Linked DNA regions of Homo sapiens: all the other regions are linked to region 1. The links are contacts of gene promoters, found by promoter capture Hi-C in human tissues and cell types (Jung and others, 2019). All regions are on one chromosome and are shown on one strand. Each heading gives the region's core, a stretch centred on a gene start or on the middle of the fragment in contact. The rest is flanking DNA. Distances are from core to core; before and after follow the strand shown. Region 1 holds the start of SP3 (Sp3 transcription factor). Region 2 holds the start of LINC01305 (long intergenic non-protein coding RNA 1305). Region 3 overlaps OLA1 (Obg like ATPase 1).

What was found. The method cuts DNA at HindIII sites, captures the fragments that hold promoters and counts their contacts. A contact is called where the count stands out against the background at its distance.
Region 2: a fragment that was not itself captured here is called in contact with the fragment with the promoter of SP3 in region 1 in 1 of the 25 tissues and cell types used here (pancreas).
Region 3: a fragment that was not itself captured here is called in contact with the fragment with the promoter of SP3 in region 1 in 1 of the 25 tissues and cell types used here (H1 embryonic stem cells).

The regions. Positions count from the first base shown.
Region 1 is chr2:173,963,309-173,966,952 of GRCh38, reverse strand. SP3 (Sp3 transcription factor) reads left to right here and starts at 1,580. Exons shown (of 7, transcript NM_003111.5): 1 at 1,580-1,788; 2 at 2,400-2,548; 3 at 3,070-3,192. The coding sequence starts at 1,782. RefSeq lists silencers at 1,333-1,402, 1,903-2,182, 2,513-3,002, 3,133-3,382 and enhancers at 2,243-3,065, 3,066-3,644. The HindIII fragment of the contact is 28,349 bases long and covers 1-3,644 here.
Region 2 is chr2:174,325,992-174,329,635 of GRCh38, reverse strand. LINC01305 (long intergenic non-protein coding RNA 1305) reads right to left here and starts at 3,609. Exons shown (of 3, transcript NR_038897.1): 1 at 2,226-3,609; 2 at 800-1,179; 3 at 1-351. RefSeq lists enhancers at 236-1,051, 3,101-3,220, 2,688-3,505. The HindIII fragment of the contact is 3,092 bases long and covers 200-3,291 here.
Region 3 is chr2:174,238,375-174,242,018 of GRCh38, reverse strand. All of the region lies in intron 2 of OLA1 (Obg like ATPase 1), which reads left to right. It also overlaps the pseudogene RN7SL65P. Among named protein-coding and RNA genes, the nearest start is that of OLA1, 8.3 kb to the left of the region's middle. The HindIII fragment of the contact is 7,216 bases long and covers 1-3,644 here.

The DNA of each region.
Region 1 (3,644 bases), core at 331-2,830:
CACTTAAATATGAGACTACAAGGACTATTAGAAGAGATGAACCCTATTCTTGGACTCAGAATTTTGAGTCTCGTTTCCGCATGTTTGTGGTTTTTAGGTTAATTCCCTGGAAATTTGATCTTTGTACAATTAAGAGCAAAGTAACCATACAATGTTTCTGATCCTGTCAGCATAGGCGGTTAAGTGCTTTGGAACTGGGATGTAAACTCAGTATCTCACAAATGGATTACCTATTAAGTTAGGACACACAAAATCTGGTTAAAGTGCTTGGACTTCACAACCTCATCCACCAGCACATCACATATCACACAAAATATAATAATCACAGTAATGGGAAAACTGAATCTTGAGCCAGATTTCTAAAAAACAGGTATTGTGGACAGTGTTTCCACCTCTTGAATTTAACTTCTTTCTTGGCAACTATACTTGAAGGTAACAGGGAGAGATGTCTCTTAGTTGGCAAAACACACACTTAAAACCTGAGCATTTTCCCCCAGGATGACAGCAAGATACCAAGGATGCCAAAGAAGGAAGGAGTGTTAACCTAATCCAGTAAGAGAAACAAGATTTTAAAATACAACAAAAATGTTCCAATGGGGGAAAAAAGGTAGTTCACCGGTTCACGACTTTAAAAAACGTTGGCAGTGGTTGATGGGCTTATTTCAGGAGATATCTGACTTGGTACCAAGAGGATAAAGAGGCCGGGAATAATACGTTTGTGCAGCAAAATGGTTATGTGACCGATTTTTTAAAACACAGAATTCTGCCCCACTGAATACATACACATACCACAAGTAAAATGAAATATACTTTTAAGTGCCCGTTTTGGTGCCACTGGCCAAAATTAAAACTCTCCTTCCGTATGTGAGGTGACTTGAGATTTCTTTTTTGCTTTAAATGCCTGCCTTCAGGGTACGTGAAAGTGGGAGACCGGTTGGAAAACTGGGGCTAAGGGGGCTGGGAGCGAGATGGCTGTGACTGAATCAGGAAGCTGGATGTGAGAGAGAAAAATCCTCCTCCAGCCTCGGAGGGGGTGTCTCCCCTAATACCAGCTCCCTCCCCCCGGGCTCGTGGGGCGGGTCTGGTTTGCTCAGTAGCGGCAGCGGCCGCAGCAGCAGCCCCGGGGCTGAGCAGCGGTGGCCTCCTGGCAGCGCAGGGAAGCGGCGGCTCCAAGAGCGCGAGGCCCTGGGGAGATCCGGCCAAGACTGCTGCCGGGATGGAGGAAGCGTCCAGTGGAGCAGGAGTCACCGGGGACGAATTTCCTCCCCAGCTCAGCTCCCCTACAGCTTGGCTAGGCCTGCTCCGAGCGCCTGCAAGGTGGAGGAGGCCTGCGCCTCGGGCCTGGCAGCGGCAGCCGGCGAGGGAGGCGGGCACAGCGGGGTAACCGGCGAGCCGTAGCCGCTCTCGAAAACCTACGCTGCCACGGCCGCTCATTGTCTCTCCCCTTCCACCCGGGGGCAAACAGGAAGCGCGCCGCCTGGCAGACCGACGGACAGGCGCCTGGACCAATGAGCACAGCCGACAAAGAGCACGGCGGCGAATGAGAGCCAAGAAGAGGGGCGGGAGTTCCGGGCGGGCTGTCACCCTCTTCCCCCCTTTTGGGCTGGAGGCTCCACCTTTTGTGTTTCCCGCACAGTCAATCAAAATAGGAAAAAAAAATCCCCGGACCGCTCCGGCCGTGTCCGCCGCCGCTTCCCGCATCCTCTCCCGCCGCCGCCGCCTTCGCTCCTCACCATGTGTAAGGCGGCGGGGAGCCCCGCCTGAGGTGCCCTAAACACACTATGACCGGTACGTAAAGCCGAGAGAGCAACCCTTGCTGCTGCCGCCGCCGCCGCTGCCGCCGACCACAGCCAGCCCGGGGCCGCTGCCGCCGGTCTCGGCCCCGTGTGTGCGACCGAGTGTCTGTGAGAGGCAGAAAGCTGCACTCCCCTGCGCCTCCCTCCCCTCCCCGCCAGCCACCGTCCACCCCCGAAGCCCCAGCAACGCCGTCTCCCCGCCAGGCCCCGGGGCGGGCGGCCCGGTCCGCCGGGAGCGCATCCCCCTGTGTGCGGGCGCGGGCGGGCGTGTGTGAGTGACTGACGGTGCGAGAGGAGCGAGCGCGAGTGAGAGCGAGCGGCGCGAAGGGAAAGGGGAGGAGAGGAGAGGGGGCAGGGGCAGCGCGGGGAGGAGGAGGAGGAGGGAAAGAGGAGGAGGAGGAGGGTTACAGGCAGCGGCGGGCGGGGGCAGCAGCAGGAGGGGAGGAGGGAGCCGCCGCCGCCGCCGCCGCCGGGGGGCGGGTGGGGGAGGGGAAGGGGCCTGGGTCCGGGCTTTGGGAGTAATTTCGCTTCGGCCCGCGGGCCCCCTCCCTCTCCGCCACCCGCCTTCCTCCCCACCCCCACCCCCCCGCGCTGTGCCTGCAGCTCCCGAAAAGCCCGTGAAACAAGAGGAAATGGCTGCCTTGGACGTGGATAGCGGCGGCGGCGGTGGCGGCGGCGGCGGCCACGGCGAGTATCTGCAGCAGCAGCAACAGCACGGAAACGGTGCGGTGGCGGCGGCAGCGGCGGCCCAGGTGAGGAGCGGCTGAACCCCGGCCCGGCTCCCCCCTCGCGCCGCTTTCTCCTCCCCTCGCCTCTCCCCTCCCTCCTCGCCTCACCCCTCCCTCCTCGTCTCTCCCCTCCCCTCCACTCCCCTCCCCCCGCCCCGGGAGCTGCCCGCCCGAGGCGCCAACGCTCCGACCCCGCCCGCGCCGCCCCGCCTCGCCCGCCTGCCGCCTTTTTGTGCGCGTGTGAGTGTGGGCCCCAGCGTGCCCTCCCGGGGGTGGGTTCCGGGCGGAAGGCGGAGGCCCGGCGCGCAGCCCGCCGCCCGCCTGCCCGCGGACCGGGGAGCCGGGGTGCTTGGAGCGGGGGACGCCAGGCGTGGGCTGGCGGCGGGACCAGGAGGAGGAGGAGGAGGAGGAGGAGAGCGCGGGCTGGCGCTTGCCCGGGCGCAGTCGGCGGGGACCGAGTCGTACTTCCTGTGCGAAAGGCGGCCCGACCCTAACCGCCACCCCCTCCCCCTGTCTCCCTCTCTGAACCCGCCCATTGGGGGTAGGACACTCAGCCGTCACCGCTCGCTCTGCTGGCCGCTACCTGCAGCAAGATAGGGCCGCCATCGCCGGGCGACGACGAGGAGGAGGCGGCCGCCGCAGCCGGGGCCCCCGCCGCCGCCGGAGCGGTAAGTCCCGCGCGCGGCCCGCCCCCGCCGAGGCCGGGCGCCCGCCATCCCGGACCCGTGGCGCGCCTGCCCAAAAGGCCTCCCCGGCGCCCGCGCTTCCCCCGACCCGCACGGGCCGCTGGGCTCCAGGGCGCCCTTTCCTGCTCTTTCGCATCCCGGTTTGGATCTGAAGCCAGCCCAGGCTTTCTCGAAATTGTCACTGCAGCACCTCGCGCAAAATCTTCACAAAATGAAGTCTGAGAGGGCGGGGGTAGAGGACTCCAAAATGGATGTTTGAGCAATTCATATCAGTGCTGAAAACTCCTTCGCTTAACACTACAAAATTTTCAAGCACAGCCTATCGGCCATAGATAGTATCAACTAGAGGCAATGTCTTTAGTTTTTATTATTTTTGAACCTGGAGCATTTTCTGTTGGACGTTACAGGATCTTACTGCTTTAAATCATACATTA
Region 2 (3,644 bases), core at 496-2,995, 360 kb before region 1:
AAGCATATCAGTTTGTGACTAAGGAAGTTGTTACTGTAAATACAGACACAGGGATGCAAGTAAGGCAAGTTTCTTGCCTGATATTAACAAAATGATCCTCAGTCCACAGTAATCTATAACTTGTGGCATGGGCTTTGCTCATTAATCAGTGACTGATTTGGAAGGGAGATTGCGGGAAAAATGAACAGCAAATATCCCCACTAACACCCCCTTTCTTCCCTCCCCTGTAGAACTGAGACCGGAGCGACCATGCCATCTAGATTTTCTTCCTGGATTCTGTAGTCGCCCAAACTCAGGCTTAAGGTGGACTTGGCTGGAACCTTCCCTCTTCAAATCTGAGCCTGCAGGAGTCTGCAAGTGGCAATTAGGAGACTATTACAAGCCATTAGATTGATCAATGTACCTTAAACAATGCGAATGAATTATATGACTGATTTATATGGGGAAGAAAAAGAAAGCAGTGGGGGAGGACGATTTCATCTCCTTTACATCCACACGCTGTTCTGGAGAAGAACCGGGCCCAGCCTCTAGTTCGTCATAGCTTAGAACCACCCGAGCGATTTATCTAGAAAACTTTTCAAGCAAAGACAAGGTCCTCTCGGCTTGTCCGGTGGGTGGCGAGGTGCACGTTTTCTGCCCCTCTCTCCGCTTCCTAAGAAAGAGCTTAGAAAGACCAAGGCCCCGAGGGGCGGCGGAAGGTCACAGCGACGCCACTCCGCTAGCCAAGGACACCACCCGGAGCGGGCCCAGCTGCCTCCTTCCCTAGAGTCTGTCCCCAGAGAGGGGGAGGACGACTTACATATTTGTTTAACGGAGTGTTGGAGAGCTGCGTGGCCTCCTAATTACGTCAAGAACACAGAACCATCAGCCCTTGAAGTTTCCAGCGAGACTTCGGAAGGAGCGGCGACCCGGCTCCAGGCGCGAGATGACGCTGGGGGTGGGGAGGGAGGGTACTCCGTGGAACGGAACTCCAAGCTAGGGCTGGCGGTTCCAGCTAATCTATCTGGCGAAGACAAAATTACAACAGAGCTGGAGCGATCAAAGCAGGCCCCCGCCCCCACCCCCACCCCCGCCCGCCCGCCTTCCCTGCCCAAAGTCTGTTTGTAGTTGTCTCCTCGGCTGCAGACACACTCGTCCATCTTCTCACGACAAGGAAATTCCTGCCAGTTTTTCCAGAGCCTGCAAGGAGAAGACAAACGCACTTCACCCGTCCCAGAGGAGGAGGATTCCCTTTGTTTAACCTCCTCCTCCCACAGTCGGCCTTCAGCTCTGAAATGGGGGAGGGGGACAGGGGATGGAAAGACCCTGGGCGGGGAAGGGCGGTTATAACAGAACCCCGGGTCCAACTCTGCCTTGCTGGTCCCTCCTCTTCCTCCTCCCTCTTCTCTTTCCAAGCTTCTCCCTCCCTCCCTCTCTCCCTCCCTCTCTCCCTCCTTCCGATCTTCTAGATCCTCTTCCCACCCAAGTCCTCTCCTGGGCTCGCGCGCCCAGAGCCTGGGCAGGCGCTGTTTATTTCCCGGCCTTCGTGGTTTGGCGGGAAAGGGCTTCGTCCTGGCTTGTTCTTGAGTGTCTGGGACAAATCCTTTTGTTTGTGTCTAAATGTGGAATGAGAAGCCTTCCAGGTTGATAATGGGGCTCAGACAGAAGAGGGAAAGAGCAGAGAAGCAACACGCATGTGTCTTTTGCAGCCAGTATGCGATGTTAGTCCAGGGTTTGGAACCCCTTCCAGGTGGATCACGGTTTCACACACACACCCAACTGTGCTCATCTGTCTTTTATTACCCCATGTTCCACTCTCCTGGGTTCTTTTCTTAGTTCCTTTCAGCCCTCTCCTTCCTAGAACCTCTTCTCAGAACCCTACAGTTCAGTGAGAGGGTGAGAAAAAAAGATACATCCTAAAACTCCCCTCGAGGAACGAGGCACCCCCGTGACATATCCGGAAACAGGCCAGCCCTGGGCCGACACGTCCATCCTTTCTTGATTTCGGCCACTGTAGAGCCCAACTCTGACAGGCTGGACTTTCCTGTCACACCTACCGATGTCAAACCCACGCCCTTCCAGAGTCCAGATGGATACCCTCCGCCCTGACCCGCTTCTTGGAACATTGACTGAAGGGTATATACATAGGGGTAGAGGAAGGCTCCGTGCACTTTAGACACGTGCGCCTCCCCCTCGCCCTGCTGCCACATGCAGAATGTACACTGATGACAAACAGACACACTTACCAGGGCACATGCCAGCGGCGTCCATCCTCCTTCCCGGCCAGGCATCAGCAAGCGAGACGGCCTTGAGGCAGGTGCCATCGCCACAGGGAGAGTGGCTCCGAGCTCCCGATGTCTCCCTGGGAGTCGAGGCATTCAGGTACCCCAAAGCCAGTTTCGAGCCTCCCGGGCGGGGTGGCCGAAGACCTTGACGAGGCTGGGCGTCCCCCTCCGCCTCCCGCTGTGCTTCCGCGCTGCTTCCTGCTCTGCACTACCTCCGCCGCCGCAACTGCCCAGCGCCCCTCTCTGAGAAGCCCTCTGCCTGCTGCACGCAGCCCATAGGTTCCGCTACATCTGGGATGCATTGCCCCTTAATTGTCAATCCCATTATTGTGATCAAGTGAACGTTGCTAATCTCTACATTTATTGTTTAGGTAAATAGAGGCTGCATTTAATCAATATGCAGGGCCCCAGCCCTCGCAGCGCCAAGTAACTTAAGTCAACGGTGAAGATTTCAGTGTGTGCATAATTACAGAGCTCGCGGAATCATCGGTCCAGCTCAATTCCACGTCTCTTCGCCGACCTGGGGGAGGCGGAGGAGGGAATGGGAGGAATCTCCATCCTCCAAGGGGTCGAGGGCCAGCTCCTTCAGGGCAAGTAAATGACTTCGTGGAGGTGACACCGCGCGCCTGGCCCGCGCCCTCGGCGGAGCGCCCTGTGAGCGCGGGGGCCTGAGGCGGGACTGGGGACTGCCCCCAACTTCCGAGCGGCAGAATCTGGCGCTTGGCGCCCCGACTCTACAGCTTCTGGACCTCTCCCCTCCCAAATTTGCCTCAGGAAGGAGGGTGGTTCCGCGTTCGGCAGGTCCCCGGCAGGCGGGAAAGCGGGGGCGGGGCTCTGGAGGTGGGTTGCCCCAAGTTCGCGACACCCTGCCCCAGCACGCAGGCTCCCTCCTCTCCTCCGCAGCTGCGGGGAGCAGCAGACTTCCTTGCCCGCGGGGAACTCCCAAGAATCCCACGATTGGGCGCGCAGAGCGCGGGTTATTTGCGCTTCTTCTTAAATAGCTATTGTTTCCTAATTTAAGAGGACCTTCGCCGGGCTAGAACGTCAGGGATTCGCAGCAGGGGGTGGGCGGGTCTGGGGAGATGGGCGGTTCGCGCCGGCGAGGGGTGGTATCAGCTCCTTACAGTAGCTTGGCTCCCGGAGTGGTGTCAGAGTGAGGGCCTCTTGGTCTCGGCGGGGAAAGGGTTAGCTGAGAATCTTTCGGGGGGCGGCGGAAAGAACCCGACCCCCGCGACACCCTGGAGTGGGGCCCAAGAAGCTGATCCTCAAGTTTGAGGCGCCAACACTTCTCTTTCGGCAACTCTGTTGTCGCGAGTTTCTCTTTCTTCTGGTTCCTCTTTCTCTGCTCCATTCCCGGACAAGTCGGACGTAAACAACCAA
Region 3 (3,644 bases), core at 609-3,108, 270 kb before region 1:
CAAGAATTTAGTTGCAAGGAAGGCAAGGAAATGTAGTCTTTATTTTGACAGCCACATGTTTGGTTAAAAATTCTGTTACTCTTGGCTGGGTGCAGAGGCTCACGCCTGTAATCCCAGCACTTTGGGAGGCTGAGGCAAGCGGATCACTTGAGGTCAGGAGTTTGAGAACAGGCTGGCCAACATGGTGAAACCCCATGTCTACTAAAAATACAAAAATTACCTGGGTGTGGTGGCGCACGCCTCTAATCCCAGCTACTCGGGAGGCCGAGGCAGGAGAATGGCTTGAACCTGGGAGGCAGAGGTTGCAGTGAACCAAGATTGTGCCACTGCACTCCAACCTGGGCCACAGAGTGCGACTCTGTCTTAAAAAGAAAAAACAAAAAACGATTACTCTGAAAGAAGGGGAAAATGGATATTATGGGCAACTAGTATACTGTGTTCAAACACTCACAAACTGCCCCAGGAGAGTAATTGTCTTGTTTAGCTGATCCTTCTGGGAATGCATTTTGGTGTCCCTGCAAATTGCCTTCTCCCAAATTTCTGCAGACCAATCACAGCGTCTGTGAAAGCCATTTACCATTGCTGAGGGAAAAGGTTGTAGAAAATGCTAAAAAAAAGAAAAAATCACAAGAGAATTATCACCATTGTATAGTTATCTGTTGATGTGTAGCAAACCATTCCAAAAGTTCATGGTTTAAAATAGTAACAATTTTTGTTCGTCGGGAATGTAGTGAGTTAGAAAGGTCTTCTGCCAGTCTCATTGGGATCCCTCATGTGACTGCATTCAGCTGGTGGCTAGTTGAGACTGAAAGATCCAAGATGGCCATTTTAACAGATCTGGGGCCTTAGCTGGATTGACTGGAAGTCTGGGGCACTTCTCTTATACTTGGCCTCATTCTCTTTCTAAGTGGTCTCTAGACCAAGCTTCCTTATATCTTGGCGTCTGGCTCTCGAGAGAATGGAGGTGTGGCAGTGGCATAGCAAACTTACACAGAAATCTTTTGGTCAAGGCAAGTCATGACACCAGCCCAGAGACATGGGGAGAGGGGAAATAGACTCTACCTCTTGATGGGAGGAGTGACAAAAAATGTGTGGCCATCTTCAATCCACTGCAGTCCACTATTTTCCTGATACAAAATATGTGATGTCTATGTGTTCCTAGAAGTCTGCCTAGTTGATTCTTAGCTCACTTGTGTTTTAGAAGCTCCATTCTTGATTGCTCAAAGGAACTCACAGGAGGAAAATTATTCTCTAGGCTGCAAATACTGATGATCTGAGTATTTTCATTCTAAAGAGCTGATAAAATTAAGCTAAGAGTCAGATTCCCATGTCTACCGAGAAGACAGGTATCTATGGATATCAGAGATATCTCTTGATGGCTTGTGATTTTGAGCATCTTTCCATATGTTATTGGATATCTTATGTAAAAAGTCTTTTTTTTTCTTAATGATTAGTTTTTTATTCTGGATATGAGTTCTTTGTTGGATATGTATTACAATGATCTCTTGCCAGTTTGCTTGACTTTTCACTTAAGATTAAATTAAAAAAAAATTTGAGCTGGTCTCAGTGGTGCCCACATGTAGTCTCAGCTACTCAGGAGGTTGAGGTAGGAGGATACCTTGAGCCCAGGAGTTCTGGGCTGTGTTGTGCTATGCTGATTGGGTGTCTGCAACGCCACCCACAGTGGTGATCCAGTGTCAGCACTAAGTTCAGCATCAATATGGTGACCTATCAGGAGTGGAGGATCACTAGGTTGTCTAAGGAGGGTGAACTGGTCCAGGTCAAAAACAGAGCAGATCAAAACTCCTGTCCTGATGGGTAGTGAGATCTCTGAATAGCCACTACACTCTAGCCTGGACAATATAGTAAGACCCATATGGAAAAAAAATTTCTTTTGAAATAATTTCATGCTTAAAAAAACTCACAGTTGCAAAAATAGTTTTAAAAATTCCTATTTAACCTCTGCTTGGATCCCCTAAGTGTTAAAATCTTTATAACTATAATACAATGATCAAAATCAGGAAATAAACATTGATTTACTAATTGTCCCTCTAATGTCCTTTTTTTGGTCCAAGATTCAATCCATAATTGTATGTTGCATTTAATTGTTTTTTGTTTTTTTTTTGAGATAGAGTCTCGCTCTGTCATCCAGGCTGGAGTACCTTGGCCTGATCATAGCTCACTGCAGCCTCAAATTCCTGGGCTCAAGTGATGCTTCCACCTCAGCCACCTGAATAGCTGGGACTGCAGGCACATTTTATTATGTCAGGCTAATTTTTAACTTTTTTTTTTTTTTTTTTTTTTGTAGAGATGGGTTCTCACTATGTTGCCCAGGCTGGTCTCAAACTCCTGGCCTCAAGTGATCCTCCCACCTCGTCCTTCCAAGTGCTGGGATTATATGCATGAGCCACTGTGCCCAGCTGCATTTAAGTGTTTTGTTTCCTTAGTTTCCTTTAACCTGGAACACATTCTCAGTCTCTTTTTGTGTTTGATATCCTTGACACTTTTGAAGAGTACTGGCCAGTTATTATGTACAGCTCTCATTTGGGGTTTGTCTGATGTTTCCTCATAATTAATTTCAAGTTATGTACTTTTGAGCACATAAGTGACATATGCTTTTCAATACAGTGTATTAGAAAGCACATGATGTTGATTTGTCCATTTTTGGTGATATTAACTTTGATTGCTCGTTGGTATCTGACAGATTTCTTCACTGAAAGGGTTATTTTTCCCATTGCAATTAATAAGCATCTTGTAGGGGGTCCTTTGAAATTTTGTACATATATTGTTTCTCATACTTTTGCCCCCTAATTTTGGCATGTGTTATTGATTCTTACTGAAACAGTTATTATTGTGGTGTTTGCCAAATGGTGATTAAAAAATATCCCTTATTTCTTCTACATTTAGAAGAAACAATTTGTAGAAGGAACAATGGAACTTCTATTGTGTAAAATCCTATTGTACAAAAGAGTTTCCCATTTATTCATGTATTTGATTATAATTTATTTATATCAGTATAGATTCTTAATTTATTCTTTTGGTTATAATCCATTACTGTTGTTATTTTGTCACTCTAATTGCCCATATTTGGTGATTAGGAGCCTTTATGTTCACTTATATTCCTTTTGACATGTCCTCTTTATTTTTTGAGTGCTTTCTACTTTCTGACACCACAGTATCTTTCAGTTATATACAACATATTTTATATTTCAGTACAATATGTTATTTGTACTCTGTCTGCTTCAGCCTTAGGATACATAAATTTTTATTTAGATATATGATTTTATTTCTCTTAGGTATATATTTAGAAGTAGAATTTCTGGGTCACATGTGACTGTATATTTAACTATTGAGGACTGCCAAACTGTTTTCCAAAGTGGCTGCACCATTTTATGTGCGCACAGGTGGTGTATGTGGGTTCCAATATTTCACATCCTTGTCAACATTTGTTGTTATCTTTTTGATTATAGCCAAGTTGTGAAGTTTTTGATTGGTGTTTTTTCTCTTTTTTTTTTTTTTTTTTTGGACATAGAGTCTCACTCTGTTGCCCAGGCTGGAGTTCTGTGGCACAGTCTTGGCTCACTGCAGCCTCCACCTCCTGGGTTCAAGTGATTCTCCTGCCTCAGCCTCCTAAGTAACAGGGA